3 separate regions of the Homo sapiens genome follow, and regions 1 and 3 are each linked to region 2. The links are contacts of gene promoters, found by promoter capture Hi-C in human tissues and cell types (Jung and others, 2019). All regions are on one chromosome and are shown on one strand. Each heading gives the region's core, a stretch centred on a gene start or on the middle of the fragment in contact. The rest is flanking DNA. Distances are from core to core; before and after follow the strand shown. Region 1 overlaps CFAP20DC-DT (CFAP20DC divergent transcript). Region 2 holds the start of PTPRG (protein tyrosine phosphatase receptor type G). Region 3 overlaps CFAP20DC-DT (CFAP20DC divergent transcript).

Region 1 (3,827 bases), core at 1,002-3,501, 1.9 Mb after region 2:
AGCAGTGTCCCTATGACTGTGCTATTTAGAACTGGACAAAATATTCCCACTGTGGCCTGACCAGCACTAATTCCTTCAGACTCATTGGCTACAACCAATGACGCCAATAGTTCCAGGGGTTCTCAGTGCCAACCCTATTAGAGTCTACACGCGGCTTCTCTCTCTTTCACACTTGGTCGAGATATTTATGTGTAAACTGCAATTTAAATTAAACTGAACTAGCTTCATTGTATTTGTTGATGTCAGGGACCACTGGATAACTCGGGTTGCCCTGCCACTTCACAAAATTGGAGTTGGGATGGCCAATAGGCTGCTTCCACTGAAACTGCAGGACTGAAGCATCAGTTCTTCATGAGCTAAAAGAAATTCCACCCCAGTCACGGCATTTTGGTTTAGGTGTGGATCTTGAGACATCATTATATAGTATAAGGGCTGAGTGGTTCAGAGACGTCTTTCTCCACATGGAGGCCAGAGATCATCATTATCACACGAGATGTTTCTAGGTGGGGCTCATGTTCCTGTTCTAAAATGTTCACAGTTGAGTATTTCTTTTGATGTGTATGAGGTAAACCATAACCAGTATTTCAAAATCATATTTTACACAGATATTATGGTTATTTACTCATATTAAAGTTTAAAGATAAGTCAACTTAAAGAAAGTACTGAGTACACAGAAGCACAGGTGGTGCACAGATACAACAGAACTCCAAGTTTGGTCTGGGCAAACCAGAAAAGGCAAACACAGCTCTCTCCCCAGGACCTGGGAGACCTGGTCTCGTGGCTGCGATTGCACCAAGCCTTAGTTCCTTTATCTGCAAAATGGGAGTGGATCATTTTCAATCAGCCACCAGCTGCAGATTGTTGTGAGGATACAGGGAAATAATATGAGCAGTGCCTGCCACTTACTAATTGTATTTATTAAATTTTAGCATGGAGTTAAACTCTTGATACACTTTATCCAGTCAATCCTTATGGCAATCTTATGTGGTAGATGCAGTTAATCTGTTTTATAGAGGAGGAAACTGAGACTCAGGAAGAGAAGAAGCAACTTGACCAAGTCACACAGGTAAGAGGAAGAGCTAGGATCTATATCTATGTCTCCCAATTCTCAAATCCATGCCCTTTACCGCCCCTGGGTTGTATGTAAGTGTGAGCTCTGCAGCGTCTGTTGAAATGAACAGCACGAATATGGAAAATGAGCTGCATGGAAGTCGGGGCTTGGCTGCTCTGTTCATTGTTGTGTCCCCAGAGCATTTGGGACAGCTCCTAACATGCTGTGGATGCTCAGTAAATGTGTACATGAGAGAGAGAAAAGAAGGCAAAAAGGGAAGGGAAAAATCCAAAAGAAAGGAAGAGAAGGACGGTAGGATGGATGAATGGGAGGAAGGAAGGGAGAAAACAGTCTTTGGCAAGATGAAAGTTTGTGTTTTCTACCTATGAAAACAAAATGTCAGAGAACCAGACTCATTGCTTGGAGGTCAGGAGCTGCCATCACTGCTGAGGAACAAACAAGAGAACCTCTTTTAACCACTGACAGGTTGGTTCATCGGTACACCGGCTTGTTCTGTGCTAGAGTAGCTAAACCATCAGGAGTGTCCCATAGAGGAATTAGAAGAAAGGGATGCAAAGAACAGTAAATTTTCACTGATAGGAAATCAACAGAGAAGATCGATAATAATGCATATTTGTCCAATTATCTTTGAAAACAATTTTGACACCAAAATAATATATACATCAGTATATATAAGCTTACCTTCTAATATTATAGAATCGAAAGTTGGGAACTATCATTGAAAAATAATCTTGTTCTAAGCAAAAACTGAAAAAAGAAATATATAAAGATTAAAGATTTCTATATAACAAAATATGTCATGGAGTTAAAAAAATAAAACTGAGAAAAATTTATGTAAGCTATTCAAAAGACAAACGACAGCATTAATATCCAGGATATATATAGTGTTCTCATGAATCAATAAGGAATAGACAAATGAAGTATTCAAAATATTGAAGAGAATTTAAACAGATTTGCACAGAAAAGAATGCAAAAGTCCAGTAAATATTTGAAGAGATCTCAAGCTCTCTAGAAGTTGGGAAATTGTAAATTAAAACAAGATTGGCAAAAAAATGCTTAAAATATTGATAGTAGTCTATTGGTTATTATGGCCTTTGAATATACAGTTGGTGAGAGCATAAATGGATGGAGCTTTCATAAAAGTTAATTTAGCAGTATTTGTCAAAATTAAAAGTGGACAGGGCTTTTGACTCAGCAGTCCTTTTTCTTGGACTCTTATCTTTGGAAACACTTGCACAGGTGGATATAAATGGGATCCTACGGGCATTCATAGCAACATTATAATAGTGAAAAACTGGAACCAGCTTAAATACTTATCATTTAGAAGAACGCTTGAACGAATCGTGGTACATTCATTCTATGAAGTCTGTTCAAAAGAATGAAGTGGACCTATACACACTGAAATAAAGATCTCCAAGATACATTATTGGTGAAAAAAAAGCAGGTTACAGAATAGCATATATAATATGATGCCATTTATGTTAAAAATAAGATACCTATGTAATATCTAAATATGTGGTATACATGCACAGAAAAGGGGGCTTGGAAATATGTACCCCAAAATAATGACAGAGATTACCTCTGGGGAACAGAATTGGAGCAGGAAAAGTTGAAGGAAAACTTTCATGGTTTGCTTTATATGTTTATGCATGGCCAGAATCAGAATGTATTCATGTATTACTAATATACATTTTTAAAATAACAGAAAAAGAAAGAATTTCAATTTCTCTGAGCCCTCCTGAACCTACATCATCCCCTAAACTGAGATGCGTTTGTGGATTTTTTGCCTTTTATTTAATTGCTTTTTCACTCTATCGCAAGCTAATACCTGGATGCCCCTGGCACACTTTCAGATGTCTGCACACGCTAACACAATTCACTTGGCATCACAGAATCTGAGAAACAGCAAAGGCCTTGGGGATGATGTAACCCATTTCTCTCCTTTTAGAGATAATGCATGGAGAGTTTCAATGGCTTGCTTATGATCTCACAGCAAAAGAACTGTCAGGGTAGGAACTAGGAGCTGGCTCTTTGGCACCAAGTCCAAGTTCTTCCCATGGTACTCCATGGCAAGGGAAAGTCCATTGCAGGATGAGACCCCAGAGGCTGCTAATGGTCTCACCAACTGCCTTTCACCTGCACCAGTGCTGCCCACTACCATCCACTGAGCAGGTGGAATCTGAGGCTGTTAGGAGCAAAGACTTTTCCCAATGCATCATGATTCCCACAACGCCTGTGCTAACTCACTCTGAACAGCTGTGAAAATCCTGCCCGTGTTCAACAGCCCTTGAAGTTTCTCATTTTTGTCTTGAAGTGAGTGAAATGTGGCAGAGAAGCTACCCATTACAGGACCAGGGGACACGGTTCTAGACTCTTCTCAAGTCCATATGCTGCAAAGATTTTAAGGACTCCCTTCACGTCTCCAAATTTTTTTTTTTTTTTTTTTTTTTTTTTTTTTAGACAGTGTCTCATTCTGTCACCCAGGCTGGAGTGCAGTGGCACGATCCCCACTTATTGAAGCCTCCATCTCCTGAGTTCAAGTGATCCTCCTGTCCCAGCCTCTTGAGTAGCTGAGACTATAGACACATGCCACCACACCCAGCTAATTTTTTTTTTTTTAATTTTTAGTAGAGATAGGGTCTTGCCACGTTGCCTAAGCTGGTCTCTAACTCCTAAACTCAAGTGATCCTCCTTCTTCAGCTTCCCAAAGTGCTGGGATTACAGGCCTAAGCCACTGTGCCTGCCCCCACTTTTT
Region 2 (4,041 bases), core at 606-3,105:
CTGCCCTCCCCAGGGGAGAGAGGAGGGGGAACTGCCAGCTGAGAGCTGGAAGTGGAGGGTCGCCGAGCCGCACACCGTTACGTGCGGTGATTTATTCTTATCAACGGCCAGTATTGTTCCTGTCTTAACCTGGCCAGAAAGGAGCGAGACTGGGTCTGCCAGCCGCGAACAGCCTGCAAAAGGGCAAAGATGAAGGTAGGCAGGGCGCGCGAGACAGGAAAAAAATCAGCCCCGGCGCGAACAGCAACCCGGCCGCCGAAACCGCCCCGGCCGCCGAAACCGCCCCCGCCCCCTCCCCGCGTCCAGACCCAGGCAATCCAATCGAGCAGAGCAGCGGAGGGAAAGGGCCACGGGCCGGGGCTAGGGGAGACACGGATCTCTCCGAAACCGCCTGCGCCCTGCCGTCTCACTGCGCCCAAGGAGGCTGCCTCACGCCGGCACCGAAGTGCTGCCCGCGCCCCAGCCCCCAGAGAGAGGGAGGACGCCCCCGACCCAGAACGCAGGCTGCTCCCCACACATCCTCAGTCCTCCGCAGCCAGCCTCCGACTTCCATTCCCCGAAACCTAGCCCTCCCAAAGGGATGGAGAACAGCAAAGCAAACCCCCACCTTCTGAGTTCCTTCAATACCCGCCAGAGCGAGGGGGCTCATCCCGGGCCCCCCAAACCCACAGAAGCATCCTTTCCATGGCCTCAGTCTCCCCAACCGCCCCACAACTCGAGTTCTCCCGATCGGCGACGAGTCAGCAAAGCAAGTCCCCCTTTCTCCCGATTCCAGCTCCCCAGGACCCCCAAAAGGGAGCGGGAGCAGACCCCCGCGTCCCCCAGCCCCCTCCCCGGCCAGCCCCTGCCTCCACCTTCCTCGACCACTAGCCTGCCTCCCTAAACATCATCCAAGCCAGCGGAGCAATCCTTTTCTCCTATCCGGGCGCCGGGCCACCCTCCACCCTCTCCAGGGTCTCCCGGACGGGCGCCGGAGCTCCGCGCCCAGGCGACAACTCCGCATCCCCAACGCGCGCCGGCCGGGGCCGCATCCCCTCGGCGGCCGGCACTCACCGGGGAAGCACACGACATAATGGAGCACGGAACTGGTGATTTTCAGGAACAAAATCCACCAACACGGTTCCAGTAACCTCCGCATGTCCGAAAACGCACATCGAAAAGAGGAAAGCAGGGAGGTAAACTTGTTGAATAAGTTCTTGCCTCCGTGCGAGCCTCCGCTAAGCCGGGGCGCTTCCCCGGCTCGCCCGCTCCACGGGCCCCCCGCGCTCGGCGGCCCGAGTCCCCTTGGAATCCGGGAAGCCGCCGAGCGCCCCCCGGAAAATCTCAAAAAGTGACCGGGAACGCAGAGCCACGCTGGGGACGATCCTCTCGGCGGAGAAAGGCTGCTTTCCGTTTAAAAAGGAGAGAGCCGATCGGGCAGGGCGCGGAGTCGGCGGCCGGCGGCGATGCCCCGGGCCTGGGGCAGGCAGGGACCGCGGGCGGCGGCGGCGAGCAGCCGAGGATCCCCAACTTGAGTCGGCAGCGCAGCACAGCCCGAGAGCCGGCGGGCGGCGGCGGGGCTGAGCGCGGCGCGGCGTCTCCGGGCTTCAGGCAGGCAGCTCCTTCCAGGGCCCCGGGAAGGAAGGAGGCATGTTTGCGAGAGGGGAAGGGGAGGGGAGAGGCAGGGGGAGCGGAGAGCCCCCCAAAATAGAAACGGCCGGAGGAAACGGAGGAAAACACAAAGGATCTCAGAGGGGCGCTGGGGCGAGGGCGCCTTCAGTCCATGCTCCTGAAAGTTGTGGCTCCGGCGCAGGCTGGGAAGGAACGAAGAGCGCGGGGCTGGAAACTGGCCATGCCTCCATACAGGAAGTAACATGTGAGCATGGATCCTGGCAGAGACTTTAAAGCCGGCGAGCGAAGGAGCGAGCGAACAGGGGGCGCGCGGTGGCGGCGGGGGCGCGCAGCCCGGGCCAGCTGGCGGCGGGCGCGCGCTCTCCGCGTTCTTAAAGCAGCCGCGCTTGGCTCCCGCCTTGCGCTGGGTCCCTCGGCTCTGCTCTCTCCGCGCGGCCTCTACTGGGACAGTTTGGGGACTGGGGGCGATTGTAGCCCGTGCGCGGAGAGAGGAGGGAGGCTGCCTTCTGGGGCCGGCTTGTTTTTTGCTGGATTCCCGTTGTTCGAGCTCTTAAAAGACGCCGCACGGTGCTCGGGTTTGGCGAGATCCTCCGCGCAGCTCGCGGATCCCGGACTTGAGGGGCCCCTCGCCCTGGCGAGGGGAAAGGGGGAGGGCGGACAGCTGCCTTTTTAAAGCGATGGGGTTTTCTGTTCGGCTTCACTGCCCTGGCATTTGCAGCGGTGAGGCTCACCGTCTGCGGCTCCTGTTCGCGCCTCCAACACAGCGCATTCCCCCGCCGGGAAACAAAGCCGAGCGGCCTTTGCACTCCGGCTACATTGAGATTTAATTTTTTTTTTTTTTCTTTTTCGGGCTTTCATTGGCCCAGTCCAAGGCTGGGGAAAGTGGGGGAGGGGAGGAATGTCGATCCCAGGATTGCGAAATCTAGCCCTTCCGAGCCCCGCATCCCCTTTCCCGGCGCCACGATGGATCGGTGGCGGAGTTTCCCCAACTCGCAGCTTCTCTGGAGAAGGTTCCCGCACCCCGGTTTGGCCGCGGGGAGGGCGCAGGAAGTGCGCCTCTTACACCCTGCAGGGTGAAAGCAGCGCCGCGGGGCCGGACTGATTTCCTGGCAGCTACCCGGGGAGCGGCTGCTTCTTTAGCAATCGGGGAGAGGCGTCCGGGGGAAATGGGAGGACTAGGCTTATCTGTAATGAGTTTTGTCCCTTGGCTCTCGGTAAGAAGATCTTTATCGCTTAGACTTCTAAGCGCCCTATTTTACATTCTTAACGCTGGGGCTAAAAGTGGGGGAGGCGGGCTTTCGAGTAAATGTGTAACTGAGCCAAGGTAATTAGCCGTTTGACATTTTTTGCCTAATTTTTCTGCCTGTGTTTCAAAGCGATCTTGACGTGGGATTGTTTTGTTTTGTTTTGAGACGGAGTCTCGCTCCGTCGCCCAGGCTGGAGTACAGTGGCTCGATTTCGGCTCACTACAACCTTCGCCTCCCGGGTTCGGGCGATTCTCCTGCCTCAGCCTCCCGAGTAGCTGGGACTACAGGCGCCCGCCACCACGCCCGGCTGATTATTTTTTTGGTGGTTTTTTTTGTTTGTTTTTTGTTTTATTTTGGTTTTTTTTGTAGAGGCGGGGTTTCACCGTTTTGGCAAGGCTGGTCTCGAACTCCTGACCTTGTGATCCGCCTGCCTCAGCCTCCCAAAGTGCTGAGATTACAGGCGTGAGCCACCGCGCATGGTTCTTGTGTTTTAAACGTGTCCCTGCTGTTTCATCCCAACACGGCAGGGTCCTCCACCCACCCAAACATCCCAACCGGATGCTAGGTTTTCAAATAAAGTACAGATGGTCGGAGATCCTCCCGTTCGATGTGATTAAGGAAGCATTTTCACACCCACACTTCCAAAAGAAAAACCTTTGAAAAGTTACGTATGGGATTACAAACTAATAAAAGCCAGGAAGTTCCTGGGGAGGGCCCTAGCTCTATCTTTAGCAGAACGGGGGTGAACACCCTCCCCCAGGGTGGGGAATGAGGCGAGTTTGTTTGCTTTGGAATGTGGTCCTTCCTGGTTTTATTGGAATCCTGACTTCTTTATAAAGGATTGCGAGGGCCATTTTTCTTGGAAGTGTTGTAATGAGGGATATTCGTTCCTCAAGTTAGATTACCCCAGCATCCCTGACTACCTTCTTAATGTCGAGTGATAAAATAGGAAAAACTCGTCAAATACTTGTGTCAGCGTCCTCAGGTGAGGTTTCCTCCTCTGTGAAATGGACAGTAAAAGCTGTCCTTTGTGGAATGCTTACTGTCTACCAGGCATTGTGCTGAATTCATGCCATAAACTGCTTGCTCATTCAACAAATGTATTGAGCACCTACTGTTTGAGGGACACACTGGGAACACAGCCTCGAACAAAAAGGGCAAGCCCCCATGCCTTATGGGAGCA
Region 3 (4,276 bases), core at 824-3,323, 2.0 Mb after region 2:
CTTCAGCCCCAGCATGATGCCTTGAACTCTAGCTCCTCTCCCCACCAAACCCCTAGCCCTTCCCCTGGCAGCTTCCTCCAGGTCCCCAGTGCCATTTTTTAACTAAGGCCTGAGCCCTCTCTCCTTGCTCAGCCTTGTTTTGAACCTGTTCCTGTGCTCACACAATGATCCTATGCTCTGCTTGGACATGTGCATGGCTTCTCCATACCTGCTGTATTAGTCCATTTTCAGCCTGCTGATAAAGACATACCTGAGCCTGCACAATTTACAAAGGAAAGAGGTTTATTAGACTTATGGTTCCACATGGCTGGGGAGGCTTCACAATCATGGTGGAAGACGAGGAGGAGCAAGTCACATCTTACATGGTTGGCAGCAGGCAAATAGAGAGCTTGTGCAGGGAAATTCCCGTTTTTAAAACCATCAGATCTTGTGAGATCCATTCACTATCATGAGAACAGCATGGGAAAGACGGCTCCCCCCAACATGATTCAATCATCTCCCACTGGGTCCGTCCCACAACACATGGGAATTATGGGAGCAACAAGATGAGATTTGGGTGGGGACACAGCCAAACCACATCACCTGCCCCTTAGCTTTGCTCTCTCTTCTTTAGGTAAGAGCAGCAAGGTAATAATTTACGCAGCCCTTCAAGTCAATATTTCAGAGCTCGGTCTGTCTCTTGAAGAGGCGGATCCAACAGACCAACACCCAAGAGGAGGGGTGAACTCTGTGTGTGATGCAGAGAATAAAACACATATACTTAAGCCTGTAACCTGAGCGTATCAGTTACAGGGAGCTATCAGGCAAACAACAGCATGCACTCTTAAGCCATTTATGTTACAGCATTCCTGGGACTCTTCTTTAAGAAATTGTTGCCTAACATGCAGTAAAATCTTATACAACAATAACTATTGCAATTATTAAGAGCTAACATACTGAGCACCTTCTGCGTTCTAAGCTCTCAATTAATTCTCATGAAACCTTGGCCTGGTAACTTCTATCATATCAGTTTAAGAGATGAAAGTGAAGCTCAAGGGGATTATGTAACTTGACCAACGTCACAAAACTAGTGAGCAGATAAGCCAAGATCTGGATCTAATTTGGTGTCCTTAACCATTATTTCCACCCTCCTCCCACAAAGAAATGAGTCTCACTGGGCAATTATAGCTTCACATTTATAAAATGAGAAATAGCATTTCAGGTTCTCAGGAAGACTGCAAATATCAGGAAATGCAATTGTTGTCAAGCACTTTGCATATGGGAAATGCTAAATCAAGCTAAATTAAATTCAACAGAGTTCTAGACAGTTAACAAGCCTTTATTAAACCCCTGCTGTGTTGGGCACCCAGCCGTGACTCGGGTTAAGCCTAATACTACTTAATTTATGAAAATGCTGTTATAATTATTCTGTTTCTTAAATTTACACGCCCTCAAGAAGAAAGTACAATTTACAATTAAATAGACATTATTTATTCCAATTCCTTGTCTTTCTTTCCATTCAGCACACCTTTATGAGGTACCTTATTGTAGTAGACACATCTTGGAGGGTCTGCCTAGGTCATGATTATTTCCCTCCTCCCACAATCACCCCTCCTTCCACACCCATGGAGATGGGTGACGTACAGCAACGTTGGACCATCTGGCCCAAGCAGGGCCGAACAGCTTCTTTCTTCCGTGAACTTGGAATCAAAATTTGCTCATCAGTCCCTATAAGTGGCTGGAAGTGGCATGTGAACTTGGAGAGAGTAGAGCATCCTTGCATCATTTGGACAGAGGATGAGGGGTCCAGATGACAGAGAGGGAGGAGAGAGAGCAGATGTTCAGGAGAGAAGCAAAGGAGCTAGACAGAGAGACACACAGACAGACAAATACAAAGCAGGGAGTTCAGAGCCCTGGTGAGAAATGTGGATTTGAAAGAAGAATGTCTCCGCAGAACCCCTACATGATGGTGAAGCTTCTGCTCTTACTACTACATTGTATGGAGTGAGGACTTTGCCCTGACAGATTTTATTGAGAGAATGCATAAATGAGGATGCTTTTAAAATATAAAACTGGCAAAATGATATTGTGAGGGATTGAGGAAATCTGTACTTTATTATTCTTTTCTATTCTGGGAGATCTAGTAATTTAAAACCATGCCATTTGAAGAAATTCCCAGCTACTGTTGCATTTCTTATTTAGCATCATTGCCAATAACATCCTAACCATAAAAACACACAGAACCTTTCAGAGCTGCCCCTCAGGGCATATTACATAGTGCCCAATCTTCAAACACTCCATGAAGCATACCTCACTCTCCCCTCCATCCACAGTCCTAAGAGACTTCTTTACTATTCCAAGTCCTCAGGAAAGATCAAAGCAGGGAAACATTGGTGTTTCTTTTCATGTGGCAAAGGATATGTCCTTCTCTAAGTTTAATTAATAATGGACCATGTGAAACACACTGTCAATAAAACACTGTTGTGTACTAGCAGGAAAATAAATGAGATGAAAAAAATATGCCTGTCTCATTATTCATTTGTATTGATCTAGATGTACAACCTTATGCATCACAATTTGACAAAAGGTTAAATATTAACAGAAGAATCATTAATCTAACAAAACAAAGTAACACAACAATGGCTCCCCTGCTTAGCTTTACCTATACCAGGGGGCTCTGGATGCTCTGAGGAACCTTTCAAACTGATGTTCAGTACCTCTCCTTACAGACCCAGCGACGAACTAGACTGGACCGTAAGATAAATAGCAGGAGGTTGTCTCTATGGATTGCAATCATCTTATTATACAAATGGACGACTCTTGCTATAAAGTTTCTGCCATATAAAACATAGAGGCCTCTTACCAAAGAAAACATCTGAGATATTATCCAACATGGAGCTTGGCACAAACACATTTTCTGAAAAATTTTAAAAAGTATTTTAGGCACAGTAGTTCCTTTCAGGGGTAAAGAAACATTTCTGTGAATTTTATCAGTTTTTCCAGCTTTATTTCAGTTCATTCTTCTGTTGAATTAATTTCATTTTTTAATAAAAACACTTTCTTTTGTATGTCCTTCCACCTTTCCTTTAAACCAGGTTTCAATCCATGAATCCATCCATGCACCCAACCCTGCACCCCATCAATGCACTTACCCATCCAGCCTTCCATGCACCCAAACATGCATCAGTCCACACACCCAAATATGCATCTGTCCACATATCCAACCGTGCATCCATCCATGTATCACCCTTGCACCCACCTATTCATTTATCCATCCATTGGCATTTGGGGTAATAAGAGGAGAGAGATTTGTTAGATTTTGGGCATAAGGGAAGGTGAACCATAGAGATGTTAAGTGACTTATTCAAGTCACTCAACAAACGTTAGGTCTAGAATTAGAAAGTTTCATTGAATCTTTCAGGGGTTCCTGTTGTTTTTCTTATTTTTAGCTTATAAAGTACCAACATAACGAGTACTTACTAAAGATCAAAAGATTTTGATAACTTACTAATTAAATTAGTTTCCCCTAAGAATTGAAAAAGAAATAAAAGTCAGGATTTCAAACATAATTAGGAAGACCAGACCACTATAAGAAATTATAGTCTGAAAGTTTATAGTAAAAGAGAATATGATCATTTTCAATAAATTTTTTTGTTATGGTCCTAATTTGGTCCTAAGAGTAGGTGCTAAGAGTAGGTCCATGTCTCTTCTAAAAATACAAAAATTAGTGGAGCGTGGTGGCACATGCCTACGATCCTGGCTACTCAGGAGGCTGAGGCAGAATTGCTTGAAACTGGGAGGTGGAGGTTGCAGTGAGTTCAGATTGTGCCACTGCACTCCAGTCTGGGTGATACAGTGAGACTCCATCTCAAAAAAAAAAAAAAAAAAAAAAAAAAAGATAACCAAATCTATTTGTCTGAAGAAAAGAGAGATGACATTTTACCTTTACCAAGTCATGCAAAACAGTCTTAATCAATCCCAAAGACACTTCACTGTGCAAATCCGTCACATTTTTCAGTGATGCTATGGATCTTGTTTTACATCATTCTTAAAATTATTGCCCATATTAACCACAATTAGATACTCCACATATAAAAGTACAAATATACACAAATCAACTTTCAGAAGAGGAGATTAGATTATTTAAAGAATAAGTGGCTGGCCAAAGTTAAAGGGCCACTTCGAACACAGATCTGGCTGTGTATTTGTATAGTATCTCTTCCAGTAATACCTGAGTGATTTGAAAGTATTTTATTCAGCAACACAGAATCCTTGTGAAACAGGTGGTAGCTCATCC

Evidence for each region. The method cuts DNA at HindIII sites, captures the fragments that hold promoters and counts their contacts. A contact is called where the count stands out against the background at its distance.
Region 1: a fragment that was not itself captured here is called in contact with the fragment with the promoter of PTPRG in region 2 in 1 of the 25 tissues and cell types used here (lymphoblastoid cells).
Region 3: a fragment that was not itself captured here is called in contact with the fragment with the promoter of PTPRG in region 2 in 1 of the 25 tissues and cell types used here (dorsolateral prefrontal cortex).

The regions. Positions count from the first base shown.
Region 1 is chr3:59,672,576-59,676,402 of GRCh38, reverse strand. All of the region lies in intron 6 of CFAP20DC-DT (CFAP20DC divergent transcript), which reads right to left. Among named protein-coding and RNA genes, the nearest start is that of CFAP20DC-DT, 590 kb to the right of the region's middle. The HindIII fragment of the contact is 3,044 bases long and covers 730-3,773 here.
Region 2 is chr3:61,559,385-61,563,425 of GRCh38, reverse strand. It overlaps PTPRG (protein tyrosine phosphatase receptor type G), which reads right to left and starts at 1,855. Exons shown (of 30, transcript NM_002841.4): 1 at 1,054-1,855. The coding sequence starts at 1,138. RefSeq lists an enhancer at 3,078-3,753. The HindIII fragment of the contact is 9,021 bases long and covers 1-4,041 here.
Region 3 is chr3:59,591,775-59,596,050 of GRCh38, reverse strand. The region is part of intron 6 of CFAP20DC-DT (CFAP20DC divergent transcript); the gene reads right to left. Among named protein-coding and RNA genes, the nearest start is that of CFAP20DC-DT, 510 kb to the right of the region's middle. The HindIII fragment of the contact is 5,594 bases long and covers 1-4,276 here.